2 separate regions of the Homo sapiens genome follow, and region 2 is linked to region 1. The links are contacts of gene promoters, found by promoter capture Hi-C in blood cells and fetal thymus (Javierre and others, 2016). All regions are on one chromosome and are shown on one strand. Each heading gives the region's core, a stretch centred on a gene start or on the middle of the fragment in contact. The rest is flanking DNA. Distances are from core to core; before and after follow the strand shown.

Region 1 (4,371 bases), core at 680-3,179:
GAAATCTTTGTACTAGTTTTGCAACTTTCAAGCCTGCTATAATTTCAAAATAAAAAGTTAAAAATTCTCTGAGCTTTAATATTCTCACAAAAGAACTGATGTACAGATCTAATGATGTAACAAACGAGTTAGCACTCTATAAAGTTATAAATGTTAACTATTGCTTTAGTGTGAGCTCCTATACTCATGGAGGCTTTGTGAATGAGGTAAATATGTTACAGCTGAGCCTTGACGATTTAGCAGGGGATTGGAAGAAATGTATTTGAGAAAGAAAAGCCACAGTGGTGATGCCAAACATGCCTGTTCTGAAGATAACAAAGTAGTCTCTCAAACAACATGCAGGCACTTTAACATTAGTACTTCCACTGTTATTAAGTACAGACTTTATTTCTTTACTCTGACACCTTAAAACAACCCTCCATCCCCACAACCTAATTGAATGATTAAGTGTAAAGTGAATTACTAAGTCAGTGTGCCCCAAATTTCTTTAGATCACCAGTACATACCACAGCATCAAACCGGTTATGATAAATTTCTGCCTGGCTCTGCTCAATGTATTGTTGTTTAGCATGAATAAAAGCTGGTATTCCCCCATACACCCAGCCAATGATGCCTGCTGTAGCTGCCGTCTTACAGATATTAGCAAGGTCCTTTGAAATTCTCTGCTGTTCACTACAACATCAAAAAGACAATGTTGTTTGGGATTAGTTTATGGACATTGCTCTCCAAGAGACTCTATAATCAGAATTAACCCAAATGCTACCACCACAACATTTTTCATCATAGGTAGAATTCTCAGATGAATTAAACAGTTCAGTTATATTAAAAGGAACGTAGTCTCAGACAAAACGAAGCTATGGTGTTAGAATTAGGATAGTGGCAACTCCTGAAAAGACAATGACCGGAAAAGGCACAAGGGGAGCTTTTGGGATGTTACAATAGTTGCCATTTCTTTCTTAGTGCTGGGTACAGCTATGTTCAGTTTGTGAAAATTCATCCATCAGTATACTTAGGCACATTTTTCGAAATGCATTTCCTACTCCAATAAAAAGTTTTTTAAAAGGTGCTTTTGATGACTATTACACCCCTAGAAATAGGAAGAATTTGTGAGTTGGATAGAGAGACCAATATTTCCGTTTAAATCTTAAGTTAACTTTTAGAAATCACACCAACTCGTGAGATTTTAGGGCAATGTATGAAAGAATAAAAACGTGGATGTAAGACAAAAAATCTAAATTCTATTTTACTAAATAATTTCATGAAATACTCAGATAGGACTGTACTAATAAAAGCACTGGGCTGGGCACAGTAGCACACGCCTGTAGTCACAGCTAACTTAGGAGGCTGAGGTAGGACTTGAGCCCGAGTTCAAATCCAGCATAGCAACATAGCAAAGATCCTGGCTCTAAAAATAAACAAATAAATGTTTTTTTAAAAACGCACTGGGAAAGTTCACTATGCAGTGGGTGGCACATGCCAATCTAAAATAACAAGGAAAAACTACTATTTAATTCGATTTGTTACTCTCAAATGCATAAGAAGCTAGAACTGCTAATGAAGCTTCCAAGATGTCATCCTGAGACTGCTCTAACAAATAGCTGTCTTAAGTATTAAGTTACTATAAAATAATTGCCCTTCTAGGCCGGGCGCAGTCCAGCCGCGGTGGCTCAGGCCTGTAATCCCAGCACTTTGGGAGGCGGAAACAGGCAGATCACGTGAGGTCAGGAGTTCCAGACCAGCCTGGCGAATGGTGAAATCCTGTCTCTACTAAAAATACAAAAATTAGCTGGGCATGGTAGTGGGCAACTGTAATCCCAGCTACTCTGGAGGCTGAGGCAGGAGAACCGCTTGAACCTGGGAAGTGAAGAGTGCAGTGAGCCAAGATCGCACCACTGCACTCCAGCCTGGGCGATAGAGCGCGACTCAGTCTCGAAAAAAAAAAAAAAAAGAAAGAAAAATACGAGTTTGGGCTGGCGCGGTGGCTCACGCCTGTAATCCCAGCACTTTGGGAGGCCGAGGTAGGCGGATCGCCTAAGTCCAAGAGTTCAAGACCAGCCTAGGCAACATGGTAAGAACCCTGTCTATAAAAAATACATTAAAAAAAAATTAGCCGGGCGTGGTGGTGCGCGCCTGTAGTCCCAATTAATCGGGAGGCTGAGGTGGGAGGATCACTTGAGTCCCAGAGGCAGAGGTTGCAGTGAGCCGAGATAGCACCACAGCACTCCAGCCTGGGCGACAGAGCAAGACCCTGTCTGGAAAAAAAAAAAAAAAAAAGAAAGAAAAAAGATACAAGCTTGGGTTACAAATATCAGAACCTCAAATATAATCTAAAAATGAAGCACACCATCCTTGGTGTCCTAAGGCTGACCCAGGCTGCCCACGCTGCAGGACACCGCTTTCGCGGCCCCCTACCCCACTTCACACCCTAGGCACTTTTACTCTTTGCCAAACAGCTCCCGGAGGCGGTCCCATCCAGATTCCGGGTAATAGGGCTCTGGGACGTAGGGAAGCCGCTTCTGACGCTCCTCAAGGACTTCCGAATCGGCAGTCACAGCTTCGGCAGCAAAGACTCGGGGAAATAGGCACAATGCTCTACAGAGAAAGCTCCGCGGTGCCGGTGGCGGCACCTCCATGGCCTTCTCTCGACCTACGGACAAACTTGAGCGCTCAGGACTTCAAGTCCTCGCGGACGTGCCGCGGGAGAGCGTAACTGTACGAGGTGAGAATCCGTGCATTTGACCCAGGTTAACCCTCTGCCAGAGGGCTCGACACCCACACCTTCAGTCCCCGGCCTCGCTTTGGAGTCCTTGGAAATACGACACAGGAAGTCCCGCCCGACCGGGGCAAAGGCCAGGGGGCGGGGCGACGGCGAAGCCGGAGCCCAAAAGACTTCCGGTTGAGGGCGGGTTGGGCCACTGCTGTGCTGAGTGCACCCCCGGAAGTGAGTTGGCTGCCAGTAGTGAAGCTCAGCGTGGTCCCGGCAGGCCTTCGCTCCGTGTTTGTGGTTCCTGGGTCATGCAAACGGTGTCTGCGGCTACTTATATTCAGCTTGAGGTGGTCATAGGTTGAAGTAATTTATCGTATTTAAAATGCCAGGAATTAGCCGGGCATGGTGGCGGGCGCCTGTAATCCTAGCTACTCGGGAGGCTGAGGTAGGAGAATCGCTTGAACCCGGGAGGCGGAGGTTGCAGTGAGCCGAGATCACACCACTGCACTGCAGCCTGGGCAACAAGAGCGAAAATCTGTCTCAAAAAAAAAAAAAAAAGGCAGGAATCCCGCTTCAGTAAGGAAGAAAGTGCAATATTCAGTGCAAGTGGAGTAGGGAAAGAGGGAAAGGCGATTTGTGCAAAAACAAGTCCAACCTACTCTGCCAACATTAGAGAAGCCTTCCAGGCTGGGCGGGGTCCGTTTGTACCTTGTCAGTTCTGCTGGAAAAAAAACGAGGCATTGGGGATGGGTGTTGGTGCCAGTTACACTAAGATTTCGAGAACACTTTTTTGAAGAATCAGCTTTTTGGCAGGTCTTCCTAAGGTGGATTTCACTCCCTTTAGTTCATATGCCTACTGCTTCTCAAAAGGCAGGAGAATTTCTGGAATTTCTATCAAGTGTTTGTATAATTTGCCGTCACTACAACCTCTGCTAACATATGCTTCGAAGTACAGTTTTCATTAAAATGAATGCATTTAAAATATTCTCAATATTCGTGTAATTTCATTCAATCCTTGTTAACAAGCATACTCCCTTATTCATTTTGCCAATCCCTTCACCTCCTTGATTCCTTTCTAGTTGTCAATCAAAACTGCCACACTGTAGTAGAATACAGTAAGTGGACTTAGGAATTTGATAGCTGGAAATGCTACACATAAGTCCCTGAGAAGTGACTGACTAGAGTGACCAGCTCAATTAGTGACAGCGCCATGAAGACTACTCTGGGATATGAGATTTGATTCAGCACTCATCGTAGCACTTACAACACTGCATCATAATTTCCTATTAATCTGTCTCAATAAACTATCCTTGAGATCACAGACCAAATATATTCATCTCTGTATCTCCAGGACCTAGAACCGCAGTAGGTGCTCAGTAAATATTTGTTGAATAATTCAGATCTCCTGACTTCTGGCTCTGGATTACTGCTTATCCCATGTTAGGTAGAAGTGGGCACCAAGATAAGTTACCAAGGCCTGAAAGCCCAAGAAAATGGCTGTACAGTCTGTTTCTAACCTATATGTAGAAAAAGCTAAATGCATAAGATGACCCCAGAATTATTCTGGGGTGAAGGAGGACTTGAAATGGGTAGGAGGGTTTGGGTGGGTGTTGGGAAGATACTGACACAATCACTTATGTACAACTCAAATGCCCCAGGATTCA
Region 2 (4,371 bases), core at 942-3,441, 1.1 Mb before region 1:
TTAATTTTTTAACTTGTTTCTTGTCTCCCCTACTAGAAAGTTTGTTCTACAAGGACAGGAATTTTTGCCTGTTTTGATCTCCATTGTTATCTTGGCATGTAAAATAGGGCCATAACAGACCCTGAGCAATTATTTATTGATTCAATCAATCATTCTTAAAGATTAGGCAAGATGGCCAGGCACAGTGGCTCAAGTCTGTAATCCCAGCACTCTGAGAGGCGGAGACAGGAGGATCGCTTGAGCTCAGGAGTTCAAGACCAGCCTGGGCAAAATGATGAAACTCCATCTCTATAAAAAATACAAAAACTTAACCGGACATGGTAGCGCACATCTGTGGTCCCAGCTACTTGGAAGGCGGAGGTGGGAGGACAGCTTGAGCCCGGGAGGCAGAGGTTGCAGTGAGCCGAGATCATACCACTGCACTCCAGCCTGGGTGACAGAGTAAGATCCTGTCTCAAGGGAAAAAAAAAAAAAAATTAGGCAAGAGAATTTACATGTATTGATTAATAAATGATAGTGTCACACACTCATTTAATCAACAGAACCAAAGAGACTGGTAGTATTACCTCTATTTACACATGAGAAAATTGAAACTACCCTGAGGCATACAGCTAGAAGACAGAAGATCTTGGTTTCAATTTCAGGTCTGACTGAGGCCTTATTCTTTTTTAATGCATCACACTAACACATCAAACCCAATCATGTGAGTTTGTAATAAATGTGTCTCTCTGCACCCTCTTCCCAAGTTAACAAGGTTCTGGCTGGAGACAGTATAACCAACTAGTTAAAAGCAGATGCTGTGGGTTACACAAACCAGGGTTAGAATTTTGCTCTATCACCTACTAAAGAGGTATCTCTGTATGACCTACTTGTCCTTCCCATGTTGTCTTCTCATCTGTAAAATGGGGACAGTAGTAGAGCTTAATCATCCAAATAGTTGTGATATGTAAATAGTACTCAAAAAGAGTTTTAGCACAGTGCCTGGCACATTGTAACTTTCATTCAATCCTCATAACTTCCAAAAATTCCAAAACACCAATGCAACGTGTGGGAAAAGTCCAGTCCTGTTCTGTTAACATCATATTTAACCTACTTAGTTCCTGTATAGAAAACTACCTAATGAAAGCACACCTGTTAATTACCAGTTTACTGGGCATATATTATGTGCTGCGAATGTTACACAGACTGTCTTATTTAACCTCATAATGCACATCATTTATATACGAAACCAGGAAACTATAATTCAGAGGAGTTGAAGTTGCCCAAGGTAACAGAGTTAGCCAATGAGTAGTGCTTTGGGTTCTGACTCCAAAGCCTAGAACTTCAGCAAGCTTCAGGGTCTTTAAAAGATGCAGGTTGAAGGAATCACTGTATTCCCATCAGGAGAGAGCAGTATCCCTATGAGCTGTGAACTGAAAGGTAAACACCAGCTCTTTAAAATTATATATATATATAAAATATATATGCATATATATAGAATATAATATATATGCATATATATAAAATATATATGCATATATATAGAATATAATATATATGCATATATATAGAATATATATATAATATAATATATATATGCATATATATAGAAACATTTTCTGAACACGCCTTACGAACGAGGCACTGTGCTAGGACAGTCACATACTCTATCTCATTTAATCCTAACAGCCTGATAAAAGAGTAAGCACTATATTACGCCCATTTTGCAGACAGAAAATCGAGGATAAGCAGAGTGAATAACGTTCTTAAGGTCACGCAGGCAGGAAGTGATCAAGCCAGGATTCAAACCCAGCCAGGTCTGAGTCCAGAGCCGGTCCTCTCGAGGGCCAAGCTCTGGCAAAGGTAAAAGGGTAGTGAGTTGGCTAGGCCTGGAAGAGGACCTGCGTCTGAGATACTGATCGGGAGCGGTGGCCGACCCTTTGCGTGGTCTCTCTCGGTCTCTCCCAGGACTCGGGCCCTATTCCCGCCTGGGAGGCCCCACACTCACGATGAGCCCTCGGCGGTTGGGATCGTTGTACTGAAGCAGGTACTCTCGTTTCAGCTGGGCTCTTATGGCCAACCGCTCGGCTTGCGCCCGCCGGGTTTCCGGAGATATGTTGTATTCGGCTGGGTCGAGGGTCTCAGGCAGAGTGCGCAGGCTCGACGGCTTATACTTTGGGAACGACATCTTGGCGAACCAGGGCACAATTGCGCCTGCGCGATTCTGAGGCCCTTTGTCTATGCTGACCTTCAGCTTCAGGAAGTGCGCCTGCGCGTTAGCAGAGGTTGGGGATGTCGTTAACAAGGAGCTCCGCCTCTTTCTCCTACCTTCCCGAACACGGCGCGTTCGCTCGGTGATATGCGCATGCGCGAAGTGCTCTTCTCGCAGTGCGCCCTGCCCCACCGCCGCTCCCCACCTACTCATCTGTCACCGCGCTGCTTCTTCCTAGCAGCCTTGTCTCTACTGACATAACCAGGGCTTATTATGTAAAGTTGAGCTGTGTGGGACTGGCTGTGGAGTCAGAAGTCCGGGTTTTCATTGTGGGTCTAACCGTGCTGTGTCACCTTGGATAAGTCACTTAAAGTCTCTGAGTTTCCTTTTCCTTATCCTGGAGATAATGACTCCTGTCCACCTAGCAAAGTTGTTGTGAGGATTAAATAAGCTAACAAATAGATCACAAAGTGCTTTGCAAAACAGAATTCCCTACCCAAGAAGAAGAGAATAAGCTTTTCTGTACTTTACCATGCTAGATTCATACAACATTAAGTGTAAGCTTATTTTTCACAGGTACGAAATAATGATTAATAGGAAAAATGATGTTATAAGAGAAATGTTGCCTGACTGACTATAGAAGGTCAGGAAGAAAATGAGATACTGAATAAAGCTCATGAGAAAACATCTTAGTTAAAATACTAAAACCTCTTGCCTAAAATCCTTAGCACTCTTCAGATGCAAAGAATTAAAAACATCCTTACAGGTATGAAAATACTCATAGGGGCATGTATCTTATTGTAAAAGACGATCTGGGGCGAAAACTGAAGTAATCAGAAACAAAACCTTCTCTGTCCCTACTGTCCTTCCTTCTCCCCAGTTACCAAGGAGAAAAACAACTTCAAGTTTCACAGCAGGGTCTTTGGGTTCCCCTTCTCCTCAGGGGAAAAAATGTAAACAATATTTCCATAACTCGGGCAAAGAAGGATGGATCAAAAGAGAGCCCCAGCTTGGCTGAAACGTCTGGGGGCGCGTAGGTATGTTGGGAAATGGTTGCTAGAAAAGGGACCTAGAAAGTGTTGGCATTTGAAATGATGAGAAGCAGCACTGCTGTCAAATTTATTCAACATTTTAATACTGTTTTAAAATATTTATTAAGCACCCACCGCGTGAAGCACACAGCACACTAGTCAGTGTTAAGTCAATCTTCTAGGCTCAGTGGGGGAAATCCAGACAAAATGGAAGATGGGGTGTTTGCCTTTCGGGAGCTGACAATCAGGCAGTACAGAAAGAATAGGCAGAAATGGTAATATTTCAAAGTAGTCTAATGTCCAGATGAATATAGAGCAAAATGGACTCATGAGGATTCAGGCTGAGAGAATGTAGAAAAAATGAACACAAGACGAGTTACTCAGACTCGATTTTAAAGGAGAAAAAAAAAGGAAATTCTGACTTGTTCAAAGGTGTTTTGAAATACTAAGAAAATAATACAATATGAAAAGCAAGAGCAGTTTATAAAATTCTAAAGACTACATAAAGTTTCCAAAACCTGTATAGATTAGACACTGATCTAGGAAGGAGAGCATGTAAAAAGAATAAAAGGATAAAGGAATGAGTCCAGCGAGTACGAACTGATGCAGGGCAGGCGAGCCCCAAAGTGGGGCTTAGGCAACCAGGGAACTTGGCTTTGCCCAGGAAAGAATTCAAGGGCAACCCGGAGGTAGAAGAAAACAATTTTATTGAAGAGGCAGTGTTACAGCTTTGGTGGTGTCACAACCGTGACTGCTCCTGTAGAGCAGGGCCACCTCATAGGCAGAAAGCACCAGCTCAGGCCAGCTTTGAGTCACATTTATACCCACATTTGGCAGTTTGGCCGGGCGCGGTGGCTCACGCCTGTAATCCCAGCACTTTGGGAGGCCGAGGCGGGCGGATCACGAGGTCAGGCGATCAAGACCATCCTGGCTTACACGGTGAAACCCCGTCGCTACTAAAAATACAAAAAAAAATTAGCTGGGCGTGGTGGCGGGCGCCTGTAGTCCTAGCTACTCGGGAGGCTGAGGCAGGAGAATGGTGTGAACCAGGGAGGCGGAGCTTGCAGTGAACCGAGATCGCGCCACTGCACTCCAGCCTGGGCGACAGAGCGAGACTCCGTCTCAAACAAACAAACAAACAGACAAAAA

What was found. Contacts are between HindIII fragments. The CHiCAGO score rates a contact against its expected background, and 5 or more counts as called.
Region 2: a contact is called between the fragment with the promoter of NDUFB4 here and a fragment that was not itself captured in region 1, in 1 of 17 cell types (fetal thymus). The highest score is 6.0, in fetal thymus.

What each region holds. Positions count from the first base shown.
Region 1 is chr3:119,496,996-119,501,366 of GRCh38, reverse strand. It overlaps TIMMDC1 (translocase of inner mitochondrial membrane domain containing 1), which reads right to left and starts at 2,820. Exons shown (of 7, transcript NM_016589.4): 1 at 2,440-2,820; 2 at 507-672. The coding sequence starts at 2,633. RefSeq lists an enhancer at 3,031-3,080. The HindIII fragment of the contact is 733 bases long and covers 1,563-2,295 here.
Region 2 is chr3:120,594,156-120,598,526 of GRCh38, reverse strand. NDUFB4 (NADH:ubiquinone oxidoreductase subunit B4) reads right to left here and starts at 2,191. Exons shown (of 3, transcript NM_004547.6): 1 at 1,988-2,191. The coding sequence starts at 2,167. RefSeq lists enhancers at 671-740, 1,781-2,120. The HindIII fragment of the contact is 1,375 bases long and covers 1,334-2,708 here.